Regions from separate parts of the Homo sapiens genome. Here regions 1, 2, 3, 4, 5 and 6 are each linked to region 7. Evidence: promoter capture Hi-C in 16 types of primary human blood cells and fetal thymus (Javierre and others, 2016). All regions are on one chromosome and are shown on one strand. Each heading gives the region's core, a stretch centred on a gene start or on the middle of the fragment in contact. The rest is flanking DNA. Distances are from core to core; before and after follow the strand shown.

Region 1 (2,700 bases), core at 55-2,554, 720 kb after region 7:
CAAAAATTGAGAATTATCATCCTGTCACCACCCAGTGGCTCTGGGCCCTCAAGCTCCCAATTACTTACAGATATCTACAGCAGAGTCTCTTGACCTTCGCACCATCGGGTCAGATAGGTCTTTGTTGTTGGGAGGCTGCCTGCGCATTATGAGCATTTAGTAGTATCCTTGGCCTCTACCCACTGGTGTCACTGGCACCCCACCACTGTCCCCAAACCTCCACCCCTGTTATAACAATCAAAATACCTATAGACATTGCCAAATGTTTCCTGGGGGTACAAAATCACCTCTGCTTAAGAACCACCTATCTGGAAGGCAAATACATGGAATATAAGAAGAACAACAACAGTAATAATTACTAGTACTGCTATCATTTAAAAGGTAAAATTGCACCACCAGCTAATGGATAAGTCATCGGCTTCCTAAAAGGCACTAATTACGTGCTGAGACTTTTATGGCCTTATCTTATTTAGTCTTCACAACCAAGAAACCAGTCTGTGTTGACAAAACATTCACATTACAAGGAAACTGAAGATCAGAGATGCCAAGTAACTTGGCCAAGGGTGCAGAGCTGTCAGTGGCTGAACTACCATTTGAAACCAGACTTTCCTGACTGTAAAATCTGAGCCTGTCACCACCTCCAGATCCTGAGGTCACATAGCACAGATAGTTCTGGAACAGTCCTCACTCTCAAAAGTTCTGCCAGAGTATGCTAGCACTATTCAAATAATATATCTAGATTTAGATTTAAAGACATAAAGACTGTAGCTATCCTCTGTAAGAAATTGACCCAAAGTGTGACTGCTGTGGAGGTTTTCCAATAGGGGAATAGAGCGGGCCAGAGTCTTGGCCAGTAATTGACTGTATGGCCTTTATTTGGGGTCAGTTACTTAAGCTCTTGAAGTCTCTTCTTGTTCATATATAAGATAAAAAATTTTGTCAGAGCAATGGTACTCAACTCTGGCTGCACATTAAAATCACTTGGGTAGCTTTTTGCCATGGTTTGGATCTGTGTCCCCACCCAAATCTCATGTAATCCCCAATGTTGGAGGTGGGGCCTGGTGTGAGGTGGGATTGGATCATGGGGGCAGATTTCCCCCTTGGTACTGTCCTCAAGATACTGAGTTCTCATGAGATCTGGTTGTTTAAAAGTATGTGGCACCTCCCTTCTCTTTCTCTTTTGCTCCTGCTCCTACCGTGAAGACATATCTGCTCCCCATTTGCCTTCTGCCATAATTGTAAGTTTCCTGAGGTCTTCCCAGAAGCCAAGCAGATGCCAGCATTGTGCTTCCTGTACAGTCTGTGGAACCATGAGCCAATTAAACCTCTTTTCTTTATAAATTACCCAATCTTGGGTGTTTGTTTGTGGCAATATGAGAATAGCCTAATACAGAAAATTGGTACCAGGAGTAGGATATTGCTATAAAGATACCCAAAAATGTGAAAGCAACTTTGAAACTGGGAAATAGGCAGAGGTTGGAAGAATGTGGAGGGCTAGAAGACAGGAAGTTGAGGGAAGGTTTGGAACATCCTAGAGAGTTGTTTAATGGTTGTGATTAAAATGCTGACAGTGACGTGGACAGTGAAGTCCAGCCTGAAGATGTCTCAGATGGAAATGAGGAACTTATTGGGAATGAGTAAAGGTAACCTTTGCTATGCCTTATCAGACAGCTTAGCTGCATTATGCCCCTGCTCTAGAGATCTGTGGGACTTTGAACTTGAGAGTGGTAATTTAGGATATCTGGCAGAAGAAATTTCTAAGCAGTAAAGTGTTCAAGATGTGACCTGGCTGCTTCTAACAGCCTATGCTCATATGTATGAGCAAAGAAATGACCTGAAGTTGGAACTGATATTTAAATGGGAAACAGAGCATAAAAGTTTGGAAAATTTGCAGCTTGGCTGTGTGGTAGAAAAGAAAAGCCCGTTTTCAGGGAGGAATTTAAGCAGGCTGCAGAAATTTGCATAAATATAAAGGATCCAAGTGCTAATAGCCAAGGCAATGGAGAAAAGGCCTCAAAGGCATTTCAGAGACCTTTGCAGCAGCCCCTCCCATCATAGGCCCAGGGACCTAGGAGGAAAGAATGCTTTTATGGGTTAGGCCCGGGGACTCTGCTGCCCTATGCAGCCTCAGGACACTGCTCTCCACATCCCAGCCACTCCAACTTCAGGCATGGCTCAAAGGGATATAGTACAGGCCACTGCTTCAGAGGGTGCAAGTCATAAGCCTTGGCAATTTCCATGTGATATTAAGCCTGCAGGTGCACAGAGTGCAAGGATTGAGGCTTGGGAGCCTCCACCTAGATTTCAGAGGATATATAGAAAAGCCTGGATGTCCAGGCAGAAGCCTGCAGCAGGGGCAGAAGCCTCATGGAGAACCTCTACTAGGGCAGTATGAAGGAGAAATGTTGAGTTGGAGCCTCCACAAAGAGTCCCCACTGGGGTACTGCTTAGTGGAGCTGCACAAAGAGAGCCACCGTCCTCCAGACCCCAGAATGTTAGAGCCACCAACAGCTTGCACTATGTGCCTGGAAAAGCCACAGTCAATGCCACCCTGTGAGAGCAACCATGGAGGCTGAACCCTGCAAAGTCATAGAGGCAGAGCTGCCCAAGGCCTGGGGAGAGCACTCCTCACACCAATGTGACCTGCATGTGAGACATGGAGTCAAAAGAGTTTATTTTGGAGCTTTAAGTTTTAATGAC
Region 2 (2,700 bases), core at 182-2,681, 950 kb before region 7:
AGAGTTTCTGTTTGGGGTGATGAAAAGGTTTTGCAAATAGTGGTGATGGTTGCACAACACTGTGAATGTACTTTACTGCCACTGAATTGCACACTTCAAAATGGTTAAAATCACATTTAAAAAATTCCATTCTCTGTTGATGGACACTCGGGCTGTTACTACTTTTTCAGCATTTTGATTAAAGCTGCAATAAACATTGATACACAAATGTCTGTTTGAGTTCCTGTTTTCAGTTCTTTGGGGTCTATACGTAGGAGTGTGCTAGGTATTTTATGTTTTATATATATTTTACTGCAATTAAAAAATAAATATATAAAAGACTGGCCTGTGTGAAGACCTCGGGAGGTAAGAATGGCTGGAGCAACAGCTGGATCATGAAGGGCTGGGCACGCCCTTGTTTAGGAGTTGGTTTTATCCTGAAAGCAGGAACCATGGAGGGATTTTGAATGAGGGGGTCATAAAGTTAGATTTGCATTTTAGAGCGATGTAAACTGCCATTACCAGGAAGAATATTAGACAGAATATTCACCTGCTAGTCCCAAGGATTTGGGTCAGGGCAGGCCTCTGTCTGTGCAGAAACAAAGTCTGGTAAAAGGGCAGTTACGGAAAGGGCTTATACTAAGCATATTTTTCTAGTGTAGCTGAACAACTCAACCATGATAACCTGCTGGAAGTGATGCAAGAAATATCTTGAACGACCTAAAGTACCGGCCATATTTTTTTCTTATGTCTGGAAATCTCAAAAGCACATGCTCACTTCTATAATTGTAATCATTTGATCAGTGTGTACTGTAAGGATTGAAATGCCAATATGTTTTGCTTCCTTGGTAGCTGAGAGATAACCTGCAAAAACATGTTGTTCTTGTTCTGGAAATGGCTCTTTCTATTACCTTTATTTCTCCATTTATCTTTTTTTCTAGGAAGTACCTGTAGACCAGGAATACTGGGCCAGAAGAAAAAAATACTGTCTAGTTTAGCAAATTGCAGAATGGACAGCACTGAATGTTGGAACATAAAATTTTTAAAAGGTGGGGGGCTGGAACTGGCAGAGTATAAGTGGCACTGTGTGTTGCTCAGCTGAACTCCATGCCCTGTGAACAATATAAGCAACAGTCCTGCTATTTCCACTGACAAGAGCCCGTTGCCTACCAGATGCCAGGCCCTGTGCTTCCTCCTGCCTTTGAGGTCTTCATGTAAAATAGATTCTTGTCATCTGCTTGGGGCATGTTTAATGAAAGTGATCAGGCTTTCTAGAGATTGAGATGAAAATATAATTAACATCTTTGATTTCTGTGCCATCAAAGAGCTCAAACTGTTCTCCAGATATATGTTGGATGCTTGAGTGGTTATGAAATCCTTTGAAATTAAGTGACAGACTCAGTCCTGTGTGCTGATGTTTAGGACAGACAGACACACACACTCAAACTCACACACACCAGGCTTATGGGGAAGAAATCAAAGATGACAACAGTGTCTAATTGAAGCTCCTCCAGGGTCTGGCTTCCTGCCATAATGGTTCACACATATCCTGTGTTTTGAAAACGGCAGGTTTTGGCTTGTGATCAACCAGGAGGGAAACATGGTTACTGCTCGCCAGGAACCTCGCCTGGTCCTGATTTCCCTGACCTGCGATGGTGACACCCTGACTCTCAGTGCAGCCTACACAAAGGACCTACTACTGCCTATCAAAACGCCCACCACAAATGCAGTGCACAAGTGCAGGTAAGGAAAGGGCAGGTCGTAGCCCTTGTGTGAATGAATAGTCATGCAATTTTGAGAAAGCATAAACTCTAGAGGGAATGCTGAGAAACATATCAATAATGAACCGTTGATTGCATGTGTACCATATACAGAATGAAGTCCTCAACATTATGAAGATCTAAAAGAAGGAGAAAGAAGGAAGCAGCTTCAGAAACTTGTGTTGTGGAGATGACAGACATGAAAGTGCTATGTAGAAACCCATGAGAACAAAAGCATATTGACATGTCAGCAAGAGAAAAATAACAGCACCCAAAGATCAAGCACAAAAATGGGGTGGGAGTGGTGGGGGCGAGTGTCCTAGCAGAGGTGAAACTCGATCTACGTATTCTCATAGAACTTTTTCTTCTTGGCTTAGAAAAACTGGGCACCTTCCAAGTCTGAGTTAGGAAAGGAGTTGCAAATGGCTATGTGACCCGTAAGATTTAGTTCTAATGAAAGGAAGTTCCAAAATAGAAAAGAACAACTCTAGCTAGAAGAGTGATCCAGCCAGCGGCTGCCCAGGGGTCAGTGTCAGAATGAGGCTGGGGATGTAACCCAGGAGGATGTTCTGTACACAAGCCCTTCCCTCAACATCAGAAGGGCTGCAATGAAGCAATTCTTCTAGGAAAACTAGTTTTGCCTCCAAGAAGTCATGTCTAGAGTTGATTTCTTATCTGATTATGGGAAAATTAGAGTTGGTCCAGTTATATTCTTGTTATAGTTTCTGCATTTGGAATAAAGATGCAGTGTGAATGTAGTTTATAGCCTATCATAAAAAAATAGCATCACCTCAAAAAATGTAGTTATCTGAACAACGTCTAAAGACCCAGAAAAGTTCACAAAATGCAATACTGATGTAATTTCTACATTTTAGAGTTTTAAACTTGATAATATACTTTTTTGAATTTGGTGGCTTTTCAGATTAGAAAAGTGGTACATATTCATTGTTGAAAATTTGGG
Region 3 (2,700 bases), core at 18-2,517, 850 kb before region 7:
TGGAGCACGAAACGGGGGAAGAGAAGTCAGAGGCTGAGGTTGATGCAGTCTCCCATCGTTTTCAGGCATCCTAGTCCCCTCTCCGGCTTCTTCCTCCCTTAAGAAGAAAAAGTAGGCAAGCTCAGCCCTCCCCCACGTGATGTAGTGACACCGCTTTAAAGATGACCAAGAGGACCCTAAACATGCTGGGACATCACATTCTCCTTCTTTAGCCTTGTGAGTTGGAAAGGACTGATTGCACACTCCAATGTATTTGTGAAGATGCGAGTTTTAAGGAGGATTTTAACTACAGGTATTTGGGCTAGGGAAGATTTTTTAAAATCCGAAATTTTGATTTAACTCATGCACTCATCTAGCTCACAGCCTCCATTTTTGAGGTCATGATGAGATTGGCTGGCGTCCCAAAGACAAACTAGTTGGCTTTCTCTGAAGCTTCCCTTCACACACTGGGATATTACAACCCACAGTGCCTACCCTCTGCCAGCCACTCTTGGGGAATCCAGACTGCTTACACAGGGTGGGGAGCACTTTCTAAGATTCCCTTCAACTCAGGTTCTAACAGAGCAGCAGCCTCCACGAGGATCCCTGGGCCCTGAGGACAGGTGAGCTTAGAGAACCCCTGGCCCTTTAATCCCTTCCCTGTCTCTGCCCCCTGTCATTTTAGAAATCAGGAATAGAAGTCTCCACAGTTATGATTGTTCCCAACTTCCTCGTTTTTGGGTTGAAGTAACAGAGGCTGAGAGATGTGAGAATACTTGCCCAAGGTGCCCTGGAGAGTGAGTGCAAGGACCAGGATGGGCCTTGTGTCAGGGCCTCCTGCAGTACACAGGAACATGAAAGCTGGTGCCAGACACTCCTGAGCAACCAGATTCTGATCCAAATTATCAAAGCTCAATAGGTTTTCAAAAAGAGCATGAGGTTCAACCACTGCCTGGGATGTTGGGCTCCCATTAGCTCCTTCTCTTTCCCCTTGGTGGTTCCTGAGGGGTCTGGGAGTCGCAGGTCTGGGACTCCATTGGGTTGATACCCTGCTCTCCACCCTGCACTGACCTAATAGCAATGTTAGCTTTGCTAATAGTGTGTAGGATCCCAGCCACACTGTGCTCACGAAAGGAAGCGACATCCATGGTGCTTTTTGACTTCCATTGATCATTGCTGACACTTAGGATTCTGGGCAGAATGTGGAGATCGAGGCCCAATCATGCCTGCGTGGCAGCCCCTGCGCTGGATCCTTGTTTCTTCCTCTAGCCTCAGATTCAGCTGAAGCCATGGCAGATAGTAAGCCTCACCTCTAGCACAGTCCACCCTGCGCAACACACGAGGAACCAGAAAGAGACCTTGGAAGTGGCAGCGGCAGCATCGCCTGACATGCGCTCCGAACTTGCCTCTCTGGAGACCCTCAACGACTCTCTGGGTTGGGGGGGTTATTCGAGGAGACCGGCAGGAGGAGTGTGCAGGAAAAAGCGGGCCTGATCCCAGCCCAGCATAGGAGGTCTGAACTAACCCCAGAGGCATTCATTCATTCATTCCCTCACCCACCAATAACTAGCTACATGACCTTGGAAAATTCATCTAATCACTTGGTTTGTTTTCTCGGTGAAATGGGATATAATCAAAGGTATGTAACTCATAAATTGGTGTAAGACTTCATGACAGTTAAAAAAAAAAAGCCAAAATGAGAACAGTGGCTGGTATACAATTAATGCTATAGGCTTCGATGTTACTGCATTCCTTCATCCATTCATTTTTTTCATTGCAGTATTTATGGGGATCCTTGTGAGTGTTTGCACCATAGAGAAAAAAAGAATGCAAGACAACCTTTACTCTCCAAGAAATTATATCATTAGATGAAAATGAGGATGCCTTGTCACCAGGAAATCCTTTAAGGAGTAGCCCAGAGAGTTAGGATGTGCTGCCTGGCTAGGTCAGGGGTTGCTGCATTTGGAAGGCCTTCTTCATCTTGATGCTCCTGGCACTATGCACAGGAGCACCTCAGTCTGCAAATTTCACAGCAGGCAGGCCATACAATGCTTGTGGGTGTGGTGGGGACTTACTCATGGGAGTTAGAAAGGAAGAAGTTAGTTTTCTGATACTTAGTTTTCTGAAGCTTAAGCAAGTGTCCAGGGGCACAGAAGGGAAAATTATGTTCCAGCTGTTGAGATTATGTTGGGACAAATAGCACTTGGGGAGTTTTATTAAGTTTTTAACTAATCACAATGAGGGAGGGCCCTCGAAACGGAAACAGGAGATTAACGATTCCTTCGAGGAAAAAGGCACCCTCGGCTTCTTGAGAGCAGGGCTGGACTCTGCTGCATGGTTGGAGAAGCTCTAGCACCTAGCTCAGTGCTTGGCACAGGAAATGCACCCCCAAAAGTGTTTACTGAATGAACGACAAGTATAATTATTGTGGCCCTTGTGGTTATTTATAGCATCGCAGGGTAGGTAGCATTATAAACACAGTAGGAGGCTGTGCAACACGACCCAGAAGTACCAGGTAGTAACCCCGGGAGTGGACCTGGAGCTGCGAATCATCTGGTCGAGGACCCATTAGGATCCCCGATGCTAAGGTCATCACAGAGAGGCAAGAGAACGCGTTCACAAGCAGGACTCGATGCAGGCGGCCGAAACTCTGGTCTGCGTACCATTTGGGCATCGTTGTAGGTGGAAACCAACTGGTAGGGAGGTTGAATGACTCACTCA
Region 4 (2,700 bases), core at 182-2,681, 840 kb after region 7:
CATTCTAGGCAAACATGGTCTTTATTACCTACCCATGTTCTGCAAACCCCAAGTGGGCTTTTATTTTTTAAGGACCAAATTCCTAGTAACTCAATGATATTATATACAAATGAGATTAAAACAGTTGCAAAAATTAGCATTTATATCTCTAAAGTATTGGCAATCCCAATGTTAAGAACATTTGGGCTTAGATACAGTGCTATTATATGAATGACTAGTTACATTGCTACATCTTCTTATCTTCCCACGTAACTATGAGACCCCTCTAGTCCAGCTGGGTAATTGTACCCCAGTAAGTACACAAAGACCAACAGGTACTTTACAAAGATACTTTTAAAACAATTAACTTGCAGATATTTGATTTCCTTACATACTCTTTCCACAAGTTAATCTCCTAGACAGCTGTGCCTACATAGTCAAAGCTTCACAATCAAAATCATTACACACTATCTGAAGGTGAAAACACAGGTGTTGAAAAAGTAAATAACTCTAACATCTCCTTTTGCAAGTTAGGCAATTCCCAATTCTTTGCTCATCAAAACTGCAGAACAACGTAATTTTTTACAATAAATCATTATGCAATTTTTCATCAATAATTTAGAAAAAATTCACAGACCTGATACACGGCTATAATTAAACTCCATTCACTGCCATCTACTTACTTATGTGACTAAGGTTTCTCAGAATTTATGTCAATTAAAAAAAATAGCAGAATCAATGCTAAATGTTTTCTCATTCTAGAAATACATAAAAGTCACCCACAAATACATAAAAAATTGGGGAAAAGTTTTAGATAACTTTATTAAAAAAAAAAAAAAAAGAGTCTTGCTCTGTCACCCAGGCTGGACCGCACTAGCACAATCACAGCTCACCATAGCCTAGACCTCCTGGGTTCAAGTGATCCTTCCTTTTGGCCTCCCAAAGTGCTGGGATTATGAGCATGAGCCACCACACCTGGCCAACAACACGTTTAATACACGTTATATTGATCAGCTGTGTACAACTATTAATGATAGCAATGTCTCAACCTAGAAAAAGTTTTAATTCTTAAAACTTACAGGATATAAACAAAAAAAGTATAAATATTGATACATACTTTTATTGCAAGAAGTACAACAAAGAGGAACATAAAATGTCCATCTATTAAAAGCTTGTTCATAATTTTTTTTAAAATGAATAACGCAAGGTATTAAAACCCTATGCCATTCCTGTGCTATTTGGACTCCATCACATATAAAGTAATATATAGTCATTTAAAAATACCAACATGCTGGAAATTTTATCTCTTGCAAATATTAAACATACAATAAAATTTTTTCAGATGATTCCTTAAAACTATGCAAGGTAGTACTCAATTTTTCAGAAAAAACTAGGGGATACAAAAGTGAAAAGTTTGAAGACTACTGTGCTAGACTAGTGTTCTCAGACTTTTGAATGTACATACAAATCACCTGGGGACCTGCCCTTGCTACTCAATGTGGTCCTGGCATGCAGCAGAAGTATCACCTGGAATCTCATTACAACTACAGAGTACTATGCCCAGCTCTCTCAATCAGAAGCTGCATTTTATAAGATCTACACCAAAGCTGCTCGGCATCAGTGGCAATACCTGCCAGCTAGCCTAGGAAACTGACAAAACACCTCGTCCTTAAAACATCCCTTATTTACCTAAAGGAGAGAACTGTTCTCAGGCTAAGCTCCCTTCTATCGCTCAAGCTTTCACAACTGAGATTATAAATTGACTTTAGATAACTATACCTAAATGTTTGGAAAATACTTTTGTCTTCCAACCTAGCCTAGCTACCTCAGGAAAAGTTCTCCTCTCATTTCATTCTTTAATGAGCAAAAGATAGTCTTACTTGATCCTGATGACTTTAAGAAAAAAAAATTGTCAAGGAAAACACATTTTTACATGGAATAGAGATGTACAATAAAGAACTAGTGTCATCAACCTAACTTCTAATATGCTACTCAAAGAATCTGGAAACTTATCAATCTGTCAACAAGTATTTTTTGGGCACCACTGTGTCCCAAGCACTATCGCAGGTACTCATCATACAGCTTCAATCCAGACTGGCCCTGTCTTCAAAGTTTTTATTCTAAGGGGGTTGCTGGGCATGCCCTTCAAAAAGCCAAAAGATATCTACCAGCATAAAAAATAAATAGAACAATTGTTAGGCAATTTTGTTTTCCTATTATGGTTAATTACCAGCACAATGTCAATATTAATTGCAAGTATTTTCTCATTGCAGACCAAAAGTATTTTCGGTTTAACAGGCTATCCATGACATATAAAATATTCCTAAGCATGTAAATTTTGGTCTTTGGTCTTAAACCTATCTGCTTGCAGACTGACTCAGACTTTCTATAGAACACTGGTAACAGAAACATACCCAAGTATGACTTAACTATAGGAAATTTAAATTACTAGTTTGTTCCCTACCAGGGATGCGGTAGCACTACCTCTGAAGTATCATTCATTCAAATCTGCCTTAAGCCATGTGCATTAATCTAGCAAAAATAAAATGAGGAGAGGAAAGGCACTATTATTTTTCAACACTCATTATGCATGAGATACTATGCTAGGTACTTTACATATATTGTCTCATTTTTAAAAATGCATCTCAGTCGTTAAAAGTGTAAGCTTTGAGATCAGACAAACCTGGATTTGACTCCTGATACCACTTAAGAGTTTAATGT
Region 5 (2,700 bases), core at 103-2,602, 670 kb after region 7:
CCTTAAAAATCTAAGCAGTGAGGAAGAGTTAAGTGTCTTAAAATTAATGAGTTGCATTTAAACTTTTGTGTGAGCTCCAAGTCTGACAGATTGGGCGGTCTTGGAAGTGAAATTGTTATTCAGAAAGGATGTGTCCTTGGTGGTCCCTAGTCGAGGAAAGTCAGTGGGAAGAAAGAAAATGAGGAAAACCAATTACCGCAATTTGTACACCAAGAAAGACTGCATGTGATGCGTGAGCAGAATTCCTGAGTACAAATGAAAAAATGATGGCATTTAAGTGGTTTTGCCATCATTTTTGCTCATAATTTTTCACAAGCATCAAAGGGCATAGGATGAGAACAAGTGAGGGCAATAGGGTGCATGGTAACAGCCAGATATTTCCAGCCTCTGGTTTGGGTTACTCTGTCCTAGATAACAATGGTAGTGAAATGAGGCTTTTCAGATGATGGAAGAGAGAATATGAGATTTTGCTAATGATTGGTTAAACCAGGTGACTGCGTACTCTCTTTCCACCCTAACTGGGTATACTACAATATAATTCAATTCTGAGACTAATCACTCAGAGTTAGCATCAGACTCCACAGGTGTAAAGCCTCAGTCCTCCACAAGATTGCCCTTACTTCATACGGCAGCCACAAATTCTGGGAATCCCCAGGCCACCCACACTTCTGATGAGCTGGCCACAAATTCAAGGCTTCCCATGATCTTTTCACATTTGATAATTTGCTAGAATGACTCACAGAACTCAGGAAAGTGCTATGCTTATCATTACAGTTTTATTACAAAGGATTCAGATAGGGTAAGGTCTGGGGAAGAGTGCAGGAATTCCATGTCCTCTTCCTGTGGAATCAGAGCACATCACCCTTGGCCCATCAATGCATTCATCAACCAGGAAGCTTCATAGCATTAGTGGCCATAGTTTTCACTGGGGTTTGATTACAAAGGTATGATTGACTAAATCATTGGCCACATGATTGAACTCAATCTTCAGCCCCTTCTCTTCCTCAGAGTCAAGCTGTTCCAAAGCTCCAACCCCCTAACCACATGCTGGGTTTTTCTGGTGACTAGTCTCCACCTTGAAGCTATCTAGCACAGAAAGGATATGCCTATCACTCAGGAAATTCTGAAGGTTTCTGAATCTCTGTGCCAAGAACTAGGGACAAGAGACAAGGCCAGATAAAATTTTTATTATGTCATACTTAGTTTGTCCTCAATCTGAAATAAACAGTTTGGAAATGCCATTTACCTGACCTTCACAACATCTTCTACCTTACTAAAAGACAAAGTGGTTGCCATCTGTAGTCATGAAGGGGAAAGAGACAGGCAGAATCATTGAGCCTGAGTCCTGTCATCACCTATCACTTTAGGCTCAAGTGAAGGCAGACCTGGAAATAAAGCCCTGAGTTTATTCTGTGTATAGACATGTGGTTCTGGCAGAGTTCAAATATAGTCATTCCTCTTTATTCATAACTCTAAAAATAATAGCTAACATGGATTGAGCATTTAACATGTGCTAGGCATTATTCTAAGACCTTATATGTATTTAGTCTTCAAGCCCTTCAACAATTCTATGAGATATTAACCCATCCCTCTTGATGGACATGTAGATTGTTTCCAATTTTATTCTTAATAAAACAATATTACAATGAAAGATGAGGGTAAACCCAAAGGTTTGGGTGCCATGAACCAACACTCTGTTTACTCCTCATCTCTCACCTAAGGCATGGTAGAATCGCAGTTACCTTTATGATATTGGTCATGAGATAGCATTAAAGACTGTACTCTGGCGTTGATAATGATGCTATGTGAGAAGCTTCTTGAGTCTTGTGTTACTGCCCAGTGCAGGGGCTCAGACCCCAACTGGGGAGCTGTTCCTCCCGCCCAAAAACAAAAGTGAAAGATAAACTTTCCCATACTGTAGTGAAACAGAGAACACAGAAATGAAACACCCACGCAGTTGGCCAAAACACAGAATACTTAAATTGGGATAAAGTCCAAGACTTAACCTGGGCCTTACATAAGAGGAGGAGCATCATGCAGGGATAAGGATAAGTGTTCCAGAGTCAGAAGCTATATGCAACTCTGTGTTTTACCAGTTATAGGACCTGAGCAAGAGCCTCCATTTCCTGATGTGTAAAAGGCAGGCACATATAATAGTTTGGGACACACAAAGGAAGAATCCATTTGAAAATACTTCATAAAATATTATAAAATATCAACTAATGATATCTCCCAAATATTCCCTCTCACATGCCCAAGCAGCCAGAGATGTTTGTTATCATCTTGTCTATCCAATAGTTCCTTCAAGTGCGTCACATCTGCAATATGGTTCATCCATCCTGTTATAGAGGATGAAGTCTAGGCAAAATTATCCTAATTTTACAGGTGGGGAAAGCAAGGTGAAGTAGAGAAATGTGCAAAGGATAGGTAAAGATAGTTATAGTTGAAGACACTTGGCAAGGAGAACCAGAATACTGCTGACTGCCAACTCAGGGCTCTTTCCAGCCATTTACATTATTGTTTTTAAGGTGGTGTGGGCAGCAGCGAGCAATATAATGCCATGTTCTATCATCTTTGGTCTGGAGTAAAAGATGTAGCAATATGTATCATCATCATTATTATCATGTAACTGTTATTTGTAAATCCATTTTCTCTTTTGCCCATAGTGGCTTAATTTCCCTGAAAATACTGTTTTCATTC
Region 6 (2,700 bases), core at 97-2,596, 900 kb after region 7:
AAGATTTTAAATCTTAGAGGAATAAAACGTTATTTGTGATATTCATTATCATCATATTGGTTTTATTTGCAGCCATAAAAAGTTAGTTACTTGTATATAAAAGGTTTTTTGTCTTATGTGGTTTTTTAAGCAATAAAAACCAATTTATTCAAGACAAAAGTATGATGCAGAGAGATTCCAGCCATGTTTTAGATAACATATTGTATCAGGGCCTATTGAAACTAGAAATATATGCCCAACCTAAAGACATTTAGAGTCATAGTACTTCAAAACACCACAGGCCAAACAATAAGTATGAGACTCCCAGTATCCTGTTTTTCTTAAAGCAGTGAGAGCTACTGAAGATTTTTGAGGGGATAGGTATCTGATAGAGTTGGTTTAGAATTTCTGTGAATGAGTCTTTGTGACTGCTTTATGGTAAGCTTCTTTAAGGTTTCTCATTATTTCTAACATTATTTCTAACATTCAGCTAGTTGCTACATTGCCTGATGATGTTCAGCCTGGGCCTGATTTTTATGGACTGCCATGGAAACCTGTATTTATCACTGCCTTCTTGGGAATTGCTTCGTTTGCCATTTTCTTATGGAGAACTGTCCTTGTTGTGAGTAAATTAATGCATACTTTAACTCATAAATTCAAGTATGGTTTTATAATCACAGTCCTTTTGTTTCTTTTTCAGTTTCTAATATGAACAGAAATTAATGCTTTTAATTCAAGCTAACCTTGTAAAATAATTTAGTATAATTTTTGTGTTGGTAAATTCTTAAGTGAATAAGACAACATGTATAATCTCAGTGGGAAAACTTCAGTTTATATGTCTCATATCAAAGTCTAAATTTTAAGAATTAGGTGGGTCTGTATTTCAACTCACAAAGGATGAAAAGAAAGAATTAGATAGGTCATATGTACACTGTTAGTAGAACTAGGAATTCTTAGAGCCATCCTGAAAAATAGTTTCATGATGTGTATGATAAGCCTTAAAAATGGTTATATCCTTTTATATTGTATTAATGTCATGTCTAGTAATCGATCCTAAAGAAATAACCAGTCAGCCGGCACAGTGGCTCACACCTGTAATCCCAGCACTTTGAGAGTCCGAGGCAGGCGGATCACTTGAGGCCAGGAGTTCGAGACCAGCTTAGCCAACATGATGAAACCCCATCTCTTCTAAAAATACGAAAATTAGCCAGGTGTTGTGGCACATGCCTGTAATCCCAGCTACTCGGGATGCTGAGGCAGAGAATCGCTTGAACCTGGGAGGCGGAGGCTGCAGTGAGCTGAGATGTGCCACTGCACTCCAGCCTGGGTGACAGAGTGAGACTCCATCTCAAAAAAAAAAAAAAAGAAAGAAAGAAATAACCAATCATGCATTAAATATCTTACATGGCCGGGCGTGGTGGCTCACACCTGTAATACCAGCACTTTGGGAGGCGGAGGCGGGTGGATCACATAAGGCCAGGAGTTTGAGACCAGCCTGACCAACAAGACAAAACCCCATCTCTACTAAAAATACAAAACTTAGCCGGGGGTGGTGGCAGGAGCCTGTAATCCCAGCTACTTGGGAGGCTGAGGCAGGAGAATCGCTTGAACTGGGGAAGCAGATCATGCCACTGCACTCCAGCCTAGGCGACAAAGTGAGACTCTGTCTCAAAAAAAAGTTTTAAATATCTTACATGAGAGCATTCAGTAGAACAGTATTTATTAGAGTGAAAACTTTGACACAACCTACTGTGATTCACAGTGGGAAAATTGTTAAATTATTGTATGTTCATATAATGGGATATTAGGCTGCTTTATATAATTCAAAGACATAGGAGCACAACAAATACTCACAATTTAACATGAAGTAGAAAAAAAGTAGAAACCAAGACTTTAAGGTATAGATAAACTGTATATTACATAAACATACACACAGAAAATAAATGCTGCAAGGAAATACAATAAAATGATAAAAATTCTTATATCTAGGAGATGAGGTAAGTTTTCAGTTTTTAAAAAATGTGTATTTTCCAGATTTTCTGATTTCATCATGTACTATTTTACTCAGAAAATATCTTTTTATTTCGAAATGCAAATTATATCATGTGTAAAGACACACCGTTAATTTTTTTATCTTCTGTGCAGAATTTGCCTTTCAGACTTAAACATGTTTGTATAAGTGTGTATACTCATACTTGTACATCCTTATGATTATACTATATAGCATTCAGCTGCATAGTTATTTAACATAATTGGGAGAAGATTATTTGTGTAAATGAGCTTTGCAGATGAAAAGCTTTGTATTGAAACTTCACAGTTAAAATGGCCAAAATTATTGGATGCAAATCTTTCTAAAACTGAGTACTCTTTTTCTGATTTCATAATTATATCACATATATCATCATTAATAAATTTTCTCTCACAATTGATTGTAAAATTACTTAAAAAGAAGGGTCTTTTTTCCTGTGAGGCCTTCTCTAACCTCCTGGTGCTTTTCTTCAGATAAAAAGGGAGAATCAAAGGGTAAATGGAAGGGGAAAAGTTGAAAACATTTTACATTTCCCACTCTTGTTTCTCCTATTTGTTAATAAAAAAATTCTAACGCCTTTTTCGTTTTTCAGAAAGTTATATAGGCTCTGTGTCCTAACTGCTGTTCCTCAGCCTCAGCACTTGACTTTTGGAACCTTGGTCTCTGCTTGCCTGTTAGTTTGGGTGAAATGG
Region 7 (2,700 bases), core at 151-2,650:
AGCCACGTTGTATAAGGTTTCAATCCCATACAGATATCCCCCCTTCAAGAGTACTGATTCCGTAAAGAGGACCTCCCAATTAGCCTGTACTCGTTGAAAGGGACAGTGAATTGTTGCCCACCGGATCTATCTCTGATTTCAGAGTGTCTGCAAAAAGACAGCTCCTTCCTCCTGTAGGCACAGGGGCACTCTACAACTCAGGCTTGCTAACTCTTCTTCTTCTATTAGACATGCACATAGCAAAGACGCCAAACCCCACGCCAAGAGACGCTCACCTAAACGAACTTTAAGAGCTATCAGGAAAAATGCCATCTATCATCCGTCTACACACGACCGTCACCATTCTCATCCGTCTACACACGACCGTCACCATTCTCTGACACAGAACCAAAGTGTCACAGGCGGAATCCACACTCACGCGCGCACACGGGGCACGCACCCATCACGTCGGCAGATCTCCAACGACTCGGGTTTCTCTCACCCACCTTTGGATGGGAGCGAAGGAGTCAACCCCCCTTCCCTTGCGTAGTATTTTTTCTGAAGAGCGAGTTCTATTCCAGAAGCTATAACTGTTTCCCGGTTGGACCAAGCGGTGAAAGTCTTTGCTATTGTGTTACCTGGTAGGACACGTCCAGGATCAACATACCATTTCTTCTGAGAGGGACGCATAAGCGTGTTCACAGAGACACGCGCTGGGACCCCCACCTCCACACAGAGTTCAAGGCTCACACACACACACACGGAGTGTATAGAGAGACCTGCATCCCTGCAGCAGAGGGTCGGGCGTACATACTGCCCGTGAAACCATCCAGTCTGGCCCAGAAAATCTCCCAGAGAAATACTGAGCTATCCCCTCTCCCTTCCACCACTAGGCAAGAGCTGGAGAGAAAATTAAGTGGTTAGAGAATGCTTCTTCCCCATTCCTGGAGCACTTAACATCCCCCCGCCCCCCGCTTCACTCCTCGGCACACAGCGCACTAATGAGCCCCGAGCATTTAAAACTGCCGCAAAGCATCCCAACAAACCTCATTTTTTCTTCGCCCCAAATCCAAGTAGACTGCAGGGAGTAAACGCACAGGGTAGCAGGAGCCAACGGCCGGAACCTTATAACCCTACCTGCTGTAGCTCCTCCGTCAGCATCGCATCTCTATCTTTCTGTCTCTGTCTCTCTCTCACACACACACAGATACACACACACAAACACACACACTCACACTCACACAAGCACCGCCTTACAATCCTCCACCTCCAGTCCCGGGCTCTCAGGAGTAGTCGCGGTGACTTCCACTTACTTCATAAATAAGTGTATTCCTCCACCATCTGGCGCTCCTCTTCAGCTATGGACTCGCACATTCAGCCCCCATTCACTCGGCTTCATTGATCTCCAGCAGCAACATAGTTACTTTCTCTTTTGCTACACTGTAAATGTAAGGTTCTGAGGGGGCGGACTCGCCGCCGACCGACGGCGGGTTGGGCCAATAAGAATCCGGAGAAAGCCGACCGCTACCTCACAGAGCCCCGCGACCAATGGGCAGCCTAGGGGGCGGGTAAGAAGGCGTGGCCTCATCTCTTTAAGGAGGGTTTATCCGAAGCTGCTCTGGGTCCTCGGTGTTAAAACACGGGCGGTGATGTCATTGGCAACCAATCAAAAACTTAAAAGAGCCAGCCGGGGCCGCGCGGAGCAGCTGCTCTCTATTTACATGTAAACCGAACCGGCAGGATGCAGTTAACCCTTTACCAGGCTGAAGTGTCAGCGGGCTGGACGCGCTGCTCCGCTAAAACTGGCTCTTCCCACTGGACGGGATCCTCCAACACTCCCTCACCCGGGGACAAACCACGCTATTTTTCCTCCTTACTATGGACAGATGATCAAAAGTATCGGAGTAACTTTCTAAAGGAAAGAGACTGCGATCACCGTCCCTAGTGGGAAAGCCGGGTTCTCTCCGAGTCGCTCGAGGTGACTTGACAAACGCTAAGCCAAAATTCGCGGACCTCGCCGGGTCTTCTGCGCTAGGACCAGCATGAGCGCGCAGCCAGGGGCGACGCTTCCGCTCCGAGCCGCGGCCCGGGGCCACGCGCTAAGGGCCCGAACTTGGCAGCTGACCGTCCCGGACAGGGAGGCCCTTCAGCCTCGACGCGGCCTGCGTCCTCCGGAGGGCCCTGCTCCGCCCGGGAAGCGTCCGCCTCCCGCCCGCCCGCCCGCAGATGTCGCTGCCCCTCTGGCTGTCCCGGCCTGACCGCCGCGCGCCGCCCTGCTGCTCACCTACTTCCGCGCCACGGTCACGCCCCTGCCGTCCCCAGGCTAACCCTCCCGGGGCTCGACCCAGAGCACTAAGGCGGCGCCACTGAGGGCTGCTCGGAGGAGGAGGCTTGAGTCGACGCCAGAGGCGGCAAGGGACGCGCCCTGAGCAGCGGTGCAGAGGCCAATCCCCTGGCCGGGCGTCCTGGGGCCCGCTACGCGCCCGCTGCCCCTCCGGGTCTGGGTCCCCGCCCGCCGCCGCCCCCCTTTCCCGCCTGGCGCGCTGGGTCCCCGCGCCGTGCCAGCAGCGCGCAACCCACCCGCCCCACATGCCTCGGCCGCCACCCCTCGGTCCCGCACGGCCCCTGCCGAGGCCAGGACCGGCAGCCCGGCGCTTCTGGAACAGCCGCAGCTGGCGGAAAAGAGCCAGAGCCGAGTGCAAATAGCTAGATTGAATGGGG

The links. The method cuts DNA at HindIII sites, captures the fragments that hold promoters and counts their contacts. A CHiCAGO score of 5 or more calls a contact.
Region 1: a contact is called between a fragment that was not itself captured here and the fragment with the promoter of DUSP10 in region 7, in 13 of 17 cell types (naive CD4 T cells, naive CD8 T cells, megakaryocytes and 10 more). The highest score is 13.7, in naive CD4 T cells.
Region 2: a contact is called between a fragment that was not itself captured here and the fragment with the promoter of DUSP10 in region 7, in 1 of 17 cell types (neutrophils). The highest score is 8.8, in neutrophils.
Region 3: a contact is called between a fragment that was not itself captured here and the fragment with the promoter of DUSP10 in region 7, in 1 of 17 cell types (neutrophils). The highest score is 6.9, in neutrophils.
Region 4: a contact is called between a fragment that was not itself captured here and the fragment with the promoter of DUSP10 in region 7, in 1 of 17 cell types (naive CD4 T cells). The highest score is 5.1, in naive CD4 T cells.
Region 5: a fragment that was not itself captured here is called in contact with the fragment with the promoter of DUSP10 in region 7 in 4 of 17 cell types (total CD4 T cells, naive CD4 T cells, non-activated CD4 T cells and 1 more); the score reaches 8.2 in total CD4 T cells.
Region 6: a contact is called between a fragment that was not itself captured here and the fragment with the promoter of DUSP10 in region 7, in 1 of 17 cell types (naive CD4 T cells). The highest score is 5.2, in naive CD4 T cells.

Annotation. Positions count from the first base shown.
Region 1 is chr1:222,455,887-222,458,586 of GRCh38, forward strand. No RefSeq gene overlaps it. Among named protein-coding and RNA genes, the nearest start is that of TRT-TGT2-1, 7.8 kb to the right of the region's middle. The HindIII fragment of the contact is 5,503 bases long and covers 1-2,700 here.
Region 2 is chr1:220,789,943-220,792,642 of GRCh38, forward strand. It overlaps MTARC1 (mitochondrial amidoxime reducing component 1), which reads left to right. Exons shown (of 7, transcript NM_022746.4): 2 at 1,549-1,722. Among named protein-coding and RNA genes, the nearest start is that of MTARC1, 4.4 kb to the left of the region's middle. The HindIII fragment of the contact is 3,670 bases long and covers 1-2,700 here.
Region 3 is chr1:220,888,766-220,891,465 of GRCh38, forward strand. No RefSeq gene overlaps it. Among named protein-coding and RNA genes, the nearest start is that of HLX-AS1, 10 kb to the left of the region's middle. The HindIII fragment of the contact is 1,675 bases long and covers 431-2,105 here.
Region 4 is chr1:222,584,652-222,587,351 of GRCh38, forward strand. All of the region lies in intron 2 of TAF1A (TATA-box binding protein associated factor, RNA polymerase I subunit A), which reads right to left. Among named protein-coding and RNA genes, the nearest start is that of TAF1A-AS1, 3.9 kb to the right of the region's middle. The HindIII fragment of the contact is 566 bases long and covers 1,149-1,714 here.
Region 5 is chr1:222,415,556-222,418,255 of GRCh38, forward strand. No RefSeq gene overlaps it. Among named protein-coding and RNA genes, the nearest start is that of TRT-TGT2-1, 48 kb to the right of the region's middle. The HindIII fragment of the contact is 917 bases long and covers 895-1,811 here.
Region 6 is chr1:222,645,085-222,647,784 of GRCh38, forward strand. MIA3 (MIA SH3 domain ER export factor 3) reads left to right here. Exons shown (of 28, transcript NM_198551.4): 7 at 470-601. Among named protein-coding and RNA genes, the nearest start is that of MIA3, 28 kb to the left of the region's middle. The HindIII fragment of the contact is 1,853 bases long and covers 421-2,273 here.
Region 7 is chr1:221,740,689-221,743,388 of GRCh38, forward strand. DUSP10 (dual specificity phosphatase 10) reads right to left here and starts at 1,401. Exons shown (of 4, transcript NM_007207.6): 1 at 1,293-1,401. RefSeq lists enhancers at 471-1,108, 1,109-1,746, 1,218-1,407, 1,738-1,937, 1,747-2,384 and 1 more and silencers at 388-437, 2,158-2,637. The HindIII fragment of the contact is 7,400 bases long and covers 1-2,700 here.